Linked DNA regions of Homo sapiens: regions 2 and 3 are each linked to region 1. Evidence: promoter capture Hi-C in 16 types of primary human blood cells and fetal thymus (Javierre and others, 2016). All regions are on one chromosome and are shown on one strand. The core of a region is centred on a gene start or on the middle of the fragment in contact, and the rest is flanking DNA. Distances in the headings are between cores, read along the strand shown.

Region 1 (2,872 bases), core at 192-2,691:
TTGTTTTGTTTTGTTTGTTTGTTTGTTTGTTTGAGACGGAGTTTTGTTCTTGTTGTTCAGGCTGGAGTGCAATGGCGCGGTCTCGGCTCACTGCAACCTCCGCCTCCCAGGTTCAAGTGATTCTCCTGCCTCAGCCTCCCGAGTAGCTGGGATTACAGGCACCCGCCACCAAGCCTGGCTAATTTTCGTATTTTTAGTAGAGATGGGGTTTCACCATGATGGGGTTTCACCAGGATGGTCTCGATCTCCCGACCTGGTGATCCGCCCGCCTCGGCCTCCCAAAGTGCTGGGATTACAGACGTGAGCCACCGCGCCTGGCTAATTTTTGTATTTTTTGTAGAGACAGGGTTTTGCCATGTTGCCCAGGCTGGTCTCCAACTCTTGACCTTAGGTGATGCACCCCCCGCCTTGGCCTCCTGAAGTGCTGGGATTACAGGCGTGAGCCACTGCGCCCGACCTGGTTCCTCAATCTTTGTGGCATTTGTCTACCTTGACATTATGTATGTAGTAAGCGTTTTGGGGGAGTCCCAGCTCCGTCCACACTGACCACCCCCCACACCTGGCCTGGAGAGGGTGCTGGGCGTCTGCTGAGTGTCAGTGCACGTGGCCTGCATCCTGCTCGCTCATCCGCAGCTTCCCGGCCTCAGGCTATGTCTCTGTACAGCGGAGCCTGCGCCACGGAGCAGGCCCGCCACCTGGGTCCGGGGTCTGGGGTCTGGAGTTTGCGCTTGGTCTTTGGGTTGGGGGTTCCGGGTCTGAGGTATGGGATCTGGAATCCGGAGTCTGAAGTCTGGGGTTCAGAGTCTGGGATCTAGGATTCAAGGTCTGAGGCCTGGGATCCCGGACTGAGGTCTGTGCTCCAGGGTTTAGGATTCCCGGTCTGGAGTCTGGGGCCTGGTGCCTGGACCCCAAATTCTGGACCTCGGTCTGGAGTCTGGGCTTCAGGTCAGGATGCTTAGGGAGTGGAGCAAGAGGTCTTCCACCAGCTCCTCCCCTCTACAGGCCCCTCCTACTCTTCCCTCTCCTCCCCGTCCCCTCCCCTGCAACAGCCTCCCCCATTCACCTCCCTTCTCCCCTCCCTCCTCCCCTCCCACCTCCCCTCCTTTCCCCTCCCTCTCCTCCCCTCCCTCCTTCCCCCTCCTTTCCCCTCCCTCTCCTCCCCTCCCTCCTTCCCCCTCCTTTCCCCTCCCTCTCCTCCCCTCCCTCCTTCCCCCTCCTTTCCCCTCCCTCTCCTCCCCTCCCTCCTTCCCCCTCCTTTCCCCTCCCTCTCCTCCCCTCCCTCCTTCCCGCTTCCCCTCCCCTCCCTCCTCCCCTCCTTTCCCCTCCCTCCTCTTTTCCCCTCCCCTCCCTCCTCCCCCTCCTCCCCCTACTCTCCTCCTTTCCCCTCCCTCCTTCCCTCCTCCCCTCCCTCCTTCCCTCCTCCCCTCCCCCGCCCACGCCGCAGCCACAAAATGGCGGCGGGTGGGAGCGGCGGGCGTGCGTCGTGCCCGCCGGGGGTCGGGGTCGGCCCGGGCACGGGGGGCAGTCCCGGGCCCAGCGCCAACGCCGCCGCCACCCCGGCCCCCGGCAACGCGGCCGCCGCCGCCGCCGCCGCCGCCGCCGCCGCCGCCGCCCCTGGGCCGACGCCGCCCGCCCCGCCGGGCCCCGGGACAGACGCGCAGGCCGCGGGCGCGGAGCGGGCGGAGGAGGCGGCGGGCCCGGGGGCGGCGGCGCTGCAGCGCGAGGCCGCGTACAACTGGCAGGCCAGCAAGCCCACCGTGCAGGAGCGCTTCGCCTTCCTCTTCAACAACGAGGTGCTGTGCGACGTGCACTTCCTGGTGGGCAAGGGGCTCAGCTCGCAGCGCATCCCCGCGCACAGGTGGGCGCCCCGACCCCGCCAGCCCTGGCCCCGACCCACCCAGCCTGCTGCCCGGGCCCTGCACCTGAGGCCCTGCACCCCTCTGTCCCCGAGACCCCCGCACCCCTCCATCCCCGAGCCCTGCACCCCTCTGTCCCCGGGACCCCTGCACCCCTGCATCCTCAGGCTCCGAACCCAACTCGGCCTGCACCCCGGGGCCTGCACCTGAGGCCCTGCACCCCTCTGTCCCTGGGACCCCTGCACCCCTCCGGTCCTGAAACCGACCCGGCCTGCACCCCGGGGCCTGCACCCTTCCATCCCTAGACTCCACCCAGTTCCCTGGGCTCTGCACCCCTCTGTCCCTGCCTCTGCACCTCTCTGTCCCCAGACCCCACCAGGCCTGCACTCTGGGCCTCTGCACCCCTCCATCCCCAGGCCCCCCTGGATCCTCCACCTCTGGCTTGCGCCCCCAGCCTGTTCCCCGGGATCCCAGGCCCTGTACCCCTGGGACCCCTGCTCTCCTCCGTCCCTGGACCCACCCAGCCTGCACTCCGGTACCCTCCGTTCCTGGGACCCTCCAACTCGGCCTGCACTTGGAGCCCCTGGGCCCCTCCATCCTCAAACCCCACCCAGCCCGCACCCCAGAACCCTGAATACCCCATCCTCAGGGCCCTCCACCCCCCGCCTGCACCCTAGGACCCTCCATTCTTCCATCCCCAGGACGCTCCATCCCTGGACCTCACCCCTCCCTGCACCCCAGGTCCCCAGACACCTCTGCCCCCAGATCCCTGGGCCCCTCCACCTCCGGCTGGAACCCCTGCCTACACCCCAGGCCCCTCCATCCCTGGACCCCACCTGGCCTGCATCCCTGGGTCCCCTCCATGCCCTGGCCCTGCACCCCCACCCACCACCCCTGGGACTCCTGTGACCCTCCAACCCTGGGACGTGTACCCCTATCTGCTCCTCCATTCCCAGGACCCCAACCCACTGTTTCTAGGACCCATGACCCCACATGCCACACCCCTCCATCCCTAT
Region 2 (2,946 bases), core at 105-2,604, 180 kb before region 1:
GCCAAAGAGCCCAGCCAGATATGCCCCATTTTTTTTTTTTTTTTTTTTGAGACGGAGTCTCACTCTGTCACCCAGGCCGGAGTGCCGTGATGCGATCTCGTCTCACCACAACCTCCGCCTTCAAAGTTCAAGCAATTCCCCTGCCTCAGCCTCCCAAGTAGCTGGGATTACAGGCGCGCGCCACCACACCCAACTGATTTTTGTACTTTTAGTAGAGGGAAAGTTTCACCATGTTGGCCAGGCTGGTCTCGAACTCCTGACCTCAGGAGCTCAGATCCGCCTGCTTTGGCCTCCCAAAGTGCTGGGATTACAGGCGTGAGCCACCACGTCCAGACGATACACATTCTTTTTATTGCATTTTTTAAATTTGAAAATAAATTTAAATAAATAAACAGAAGTGGGATCTTGCTATGCTGACCAGCCTGGTCTTGAACTCCTAGCCTCAAGTGACCCTCCCATCTCAGCCTTCCAAGTGCTAAGATGACAGGCGTGAGCTGCCACACCCAGTCTGTGCAAAGTCCTCTTGGTCCCTGCCCCTGGGGCCCCTTCCCCACGTCAAAGCCAGGACTGTGGAAAGGGGGCAGACGTGGGGCTCGCGTGCCTGCAGGCACAAGGTTCACATGTCCATCGAGGTCCAAGGAGCCCAGGGACAGCCTAGACACTGTGGAGAAGGGGCCTTCACTGTCTGACCCTTGGGTGGCCCCGTCAGCCCTGCAGCCTGGATGGGGTGGTCCTATCAAGAATTCGTCAGGCTACTGAGGCTGTTCGTGTACGGGCCGCTCATCTGTGCTTCAGCCAGGCCACGCTGCTGCTGAAGACACACCTAGGGCCTCGTTTCAAGGAGCCCCGCCCGTGGTTGAGAGGAGACGACACCTCACAAGCAGAGTCTGAGTGCAGGCAGAGGCTGAAAGAATGCCAGCAGGTGGGAGCCCCAACCTGGGAGGGGCAGGGCACGGCCCAGACGCAGGGGTGCCGAGGGAGACTGGGGATGCAGGGAGGGCGCGAGGGCCTCCGGGAGCCCAGGGACCTGGGGTCTTCCTCCGCGGGGGACCTTTCCAGCCGCTGTGGAGGGAGCAGGTGTGCCCAGGGAAGGACTGCGGCAGGCTGCAGCCGTGGGTGGGGCCCGGGCTGGGGCCCAGGCTAGCGAGTGGCAGCTTCTGGGAGCGAGCAGTAGAGGGTGCACAGGTCTAGCTCCCCAGCTGGTGGGAAGCAGGACGAAAGCAGAGTCTCCGGGCACCTGGGAGGATGGGCCTGGTCTGGGAGCCACTGGGTTCCTGCGATTTCTCCCCTCTGGGTGGAGCCCGGTCAGGGCTGGGGAAAGGAACGGCCCCACAGCGGGACAGAGGCGCTGGGAGAAGGAAGCACTGTCCACGCCAACGTCGCAAGTCCCTGATAAACTCTTCTCCAAGCAGGCATGGGGCAGGCACAGAGCGTGTGGCCTGGAAGTGCACAGGAGCCGGGCATGGCGGGCGACACTCACCGCTCCCCAAGTCCACAAACAGGTCGTCGTCGGTCATCTTGATCTCATCAATCATCTGGGCCACCAGGTCGAAGGAGGTCTCCCCGTACACCTCGGGGGAGAAGGGCTCGTAGTTGTTGAGCTTCTCGGGGTCGGTCACCGAGTGGTTGTAGACCTGCTGCAGGATATGGCGCAGGAGTCCAGTGGACGGCCGCGTGTTCAGCTTCATGGGCTGCGTGGTGCCCTTCCACTGCGGACGGAGGGTGGCCCGGCCATGTCACATAAACCTCACGGCCCAGCCCCTCCACCACCAAGACCCGGGACCTTTCCCAGCGGAAGCAGGGAGTCGGCTGCATGGCCTCTCGTCCCCCTGCAGGGTGGCTGCCGGGCTCCCAGGTCAGTTTCCAACCCAGCCCCATTTCCTACAAGCAGTAAAGCAGCATCCCCAGGGACAGGCCCCAACTCAGAGGGGTCCTAGGAGGCTCCACCTCCTGCCACGGGCCTCTCTCCCCACTGGCAAGACCACCAAAACCACACAGGCCACCAAGACCACCACCCCTCCTCTGGGCCAAGGCAGCAGGGTGGGGCGCTGACACCAAGGGACCCCCGTCAGGTGCCACGAGCCCCGTGAAAGCCCTGAGCCTACCACACCTCATCTGACTCGACTACGTGGGACCCCGCCTTCCTCCCCACCAGCTGCAGCAGGCTGAGGTGGTCCCCTCTCGCCCAGGCCAGCTCAGCTCTCAGGGGCCCACAGAGCTGCATGCATGAGGTTGAGGGGAAGCCAGAGCCGGGTGGCAGGCTGATGGGGCAGCCCAGCCCAGCCCAGTCCCACTCAGGAGGGCCAAGTGAGCCCATGCCACCCCCACCAGGGCTCCCTCCACAGCAAGACCTTCAAGAAAGAGCTCCCCTACCCCCATGCACCAGGGGCCCCCGGTGCTTTCTAGAACATGGGAAGCAGCACGTTCCCCTCCCTGCTACACCCCAGCTCACTGTGTGCCCCGTCCTCTGTGAGGAAAGCCTCACGAGACACAGCAGGACCGGGGTGCCCAAGGGTGCAGCCCAGGCCGGCATCCAGCCTGATGAAGGCAGGCGGTGTGGGGGAGGTCCAAGGGGGAAGGCCGGCATTCACACAGCCCGGGGAGGACAGGGACCCCGCCTCTGCTGGGACCTGCGGACACCAACCCAGGGCTGCAGAGGCGTGTGCAGACACCACAACCCTCAGGGCCCTGCCTCAGCACACAAACCACGGACGGCTCTGCTTTGGCACACGGCCACAGCACACAGCCCAGCCTCGGCAGCCCCCACACCACTCACCCACAGCCCATCGTCCCCCCACGCTGCACATTCCAATCCCCAGGGGCTCTAAGGGGAGCTCTGTGCCCCGAGGCGGTGACATAAGGGGTCTGGAGGGGTCCGGGAGCCTGGCACTACTAACCCCCTCTGGGCAGGGGCAAGCCACCTACCAGCTGGTGGATGCTGTCGAT
Region 3 (2,789 bases), core at 290-2,789, 210 kb before region 1:
TGTCCCAAGAACACACCAGGGACACACAAATTCCTAAAGATCCTGGAAACCACTAAGCTGAGCAATCCCAATGCAAAACAGAGCATCCAGGTGCTACAATGTTTCTCGTGTAACACGTGCACGCACACGTGGGCAAGGAGCAGAACGAACTAACACAGAACACCACCAAAAGCACACTTAGGGCCGGCTGTGATGGCGCACGCTGGGAGGCACTGGGAGGCAGAAGGCTTGAGGCCAGGAGTTTGAGACCAGCCTGGGCAACATGGCAAAACCCGATCTCTATAAAACAAAAAAACGAACGAGGCACGGTGGTAGCGTGTGCCTGTAGACACAACTACTCAGGAGGCTGAGGCAGGAGAATCACTTGAACCCAGGAGGCGGAGGGTCAGTGAGCCGAGATCGCGCCACCGCACTCCAGCCTGGGCCACAGACCAAAACTCTGTGTCTCAGGAAAAAAAAAAAAAAAAAAGCAAAAAACCCTACCATGTTATATCACTTCACGACGACTCGGATGGCTAGAATCAAAACAAGAAATTCAGTGTGTTGAGGATGTGGGGACTGAGGACCTCAGACCCTCGTGCACCCATGGTGGCAGGGTGGAATGGTGTGGCTGCTGGAGAGCCCAGGGGGCCGGGCCACCCAGCACCTCCGCCCAGGCACCAGGAAACGGGAAACTTGCTCCCAAACACAAACACGCACACCCATGGCCACAGCAGTGCTGCTCACAACCGCCCAGGGTAAGCAAGCCTAGCACGGAGGGCGGATGGATGGTGGAGCACCACCCAGCCACGACAGGGACCGAGGATGCACCTTGAGGACGTCACGCTCAGTGAGAGATGCCAGACACAAAAGGCCACATCCTGTGTGACTCCGCTCCTAGGAGGTCCCTAGAGCCCTCAGATTCAGAGACAGAAAGTAGGATGGGGGCGGGGGGTGCCAGGGGCTCTTGGGAGGAGAAGGGGAGTGAGTGTTTCAAGGGGATGATGAGATTTTCTCAGGACATGATGGAAGGTTCTGGATTTAGGCAGTGGTAATGTGGATATACCAAAGACCTCTGAATTGCACACTTTAAATGGAGAATACGATATGTGAATTTTATCTAATAAAGCTACTGTAATACACTCGGCAAGACGTGTGGATGAGACCTCCAACGCCTCACTGCTGAAGCTTCTCTCCTGCTGCGCTCAGCTCCTCCTCAGCTTGCCTCTTCTAACCGATGGCCCTGCTCGTGTCCCACCCCGAATGGCCCGGGAGGCCGGCCCTGCCCGGAACGGGGCCCAGGACCTGTGGGGAGGCCCCTCACAAAACAGACGCCTTCCTCCCATCCAGGGCACCCCCTAAGAGCCTGCCGGTCCTCCCCACCCACCCACCCACACACACACAGTGAGCAGGCACCTCCTGCCCCTGCTGCCAGGCCCCGCCCCCCTCCGGGCCCCTGGACTCGCCGAGCACTGCTGGGCTCGTCCTCAGAGCCTGGCTCCTCGTCTGAGGTGAGTGGGGAGTAGTGTGCCCCATTGGTCTGGCTCAGAGGCCGCTCCTTCTTGAGCACGGGGGGCTGGTCGTGGTCCTGGTAGGGCACAGGGGAGCTCTTCAGGGAGGTCTCCGGGGACGAGATGGCTGTAATCTCCAGGGGCTGGTTGATGTTACTGACCTGAGGGCAGACAGACACAATGGATGCACATACCACAGACCCGGGACCCCAAGGCAGGAGAGCCCCCCCGCCCCAGGAGGCTCCTGTCTGCACCCCAGGGTCTCCTGAGGAAACTGATGCCCTGCCCAGCGGCCAGTACAGCCCCTGTCCTGGTTCTTCCTGGTCCTCACACACCACCCCGCAATCCCAGAGCCCCCCATGCCCCCTCCTGATGTGCCCACCACCACTAAGGCCCCACAGCCGAGAATGAAGAAGCTTGCAGGCAGCGCATCGCACTCCGAACCCCAGAGACAGCTGTCGGCCGCCTCTTCCCAGGCTGCCAGGCCGCACGTGGTGGAGGATGGCCGGGCTCAGTCATGGCCCCCTGCCTCCACCTGTTTTTTTTTGTGTTTTTTTTTGTCCCCCCGAGAGGGAGTCTCGCTCTGTGGCCCAGGCAGTGGCCGATCTCAGTTCACTGCAAGCCCCGCCTCCCGGGTTCACATCATTCTCCTGCCTCAGCCTCCCAGGCACCCGCCACCACGCCCGGCTAATCTTTTGTATTTTTGGTAGAGACGGGGTTTCACCGTGTTAGCCAGGATGGTCTTGATGTCCTGATCTTGTGATCCACCCGCCTCGGCCTCCCAAAATGCTGGGATTACAGGCGTGAGCCACCGCGCCCGGTCTCCCTCTGGTCTTTCTTTCACAGGCCGCGCTCCCCAGCCCTGCCGGTCCCCATCCTTACCATGGAGTTGAGGTTGAGGGGAGACCCCGAAGGCTGTGTGAAAAGGCCAGCGACGGACGGCAGGGCTCGGCGCTTGGGGGACACGCCTGCGCTCAAGCTGGGCGTCCCCGCAGATGCTCGCTTCCGCCGGCCGCGCCTGCGACTGTCCTGCCCGTGGCTCGGCACACAGTCCCCACGGGCGCTGGCGGTCAGGGGGCTGTGCTTGCTGGAGGGCGACTGCTTGGCACTGCCCGCACCAGTGGTGATGGTGAACACAATCCTCCTCTTGGCTTCACTCTCAGGATCTGAGAAGCCGGAATCGGAGGGCAGGTCTCCCTTGCTGGCCTCGGGCAACGGGCCCTGGGCGGCCCCACCAAGCCGGGGACTGGAGGAGAGCTGGTGGGCGGGAGAGGCAGGAAGCGAGTTCCGGGGCTGTGC

Evidence for each region. Contacts are between HindIII fragments. The CHiCAGO score rates a contact against its expected background, and 5 or more counts as called.
Region 2: a contact is called between a fragment that was not itself captured here and the fragment with the promoter of BTBD2 in region 1, in 1 of 17 cell types (neutrophils). The highest score is 6.5, in neutrophils.
Region 3: a contact is called between a fragment that was not itself captured here and the fragment with the promoter of BTBD2 in region 1, in 1 of 17 cell types (naive B cells). The highest score is 5.2, in naive B cells.

Annotation. Positions count from the first base shown.
Region 1 is chr19:2,014,283-2,017,154 of GRCh38, reverse strand. It overlaps BTBD2 (BTB domain containing 2), which reads left to right and starts at 1,441. Exons shown (of 9, transcript NM_017797.4): 1 at 1,441-1,858. The coding sequence starts at 1,452. LOC107985278 (a long non-coding RNA gene) reads left to right here. Exons shown (of 4, transcript XR_001753845.2): 4 at 61-810. RefSeq lists silencers at 1,635-1,784, 1,795-1,844. The HindIII fragment of the contact is 21,370 bases long and covers 1-2,872 here.
Region 2 is chr19:2,189,775-2,192,720 of GRCh38, reverse strand. It overlaps DOT1L (DOT1 like histone lysine methyltransferase), which reads right to left. Exons shown (of 28, transcript NM_032482.3): 4 at 2,926-2,946; 5 at 1,481-1,709. Among named protein-coding and RNA genes, the nearest start is that of DOT1L-AS1, 24 kb to the left of the region's middle. The HindIII fragment of the contact is 8,550 bases long and covers 1-2,946 here.
Region 3 is chr19:2,222,143-2,224,931 of GRCh38, reverse strand. DOT1L (DOT1 like histone lysine methyltransferase) reads right to left here. Exons shown (of 28, transcript NM_032482.3): 24 at 2,373-2,789; 25 at 1,446-1,651. Among named protein-coding and RNA genes, the nearest start is that of DOT1L-AS1, 8.0 kb to the right of the region's middle. RefSeq lists a silencer at 891-950. The HindIII fragment of the contact is 739 bases long and covers 1,170-1,908 here.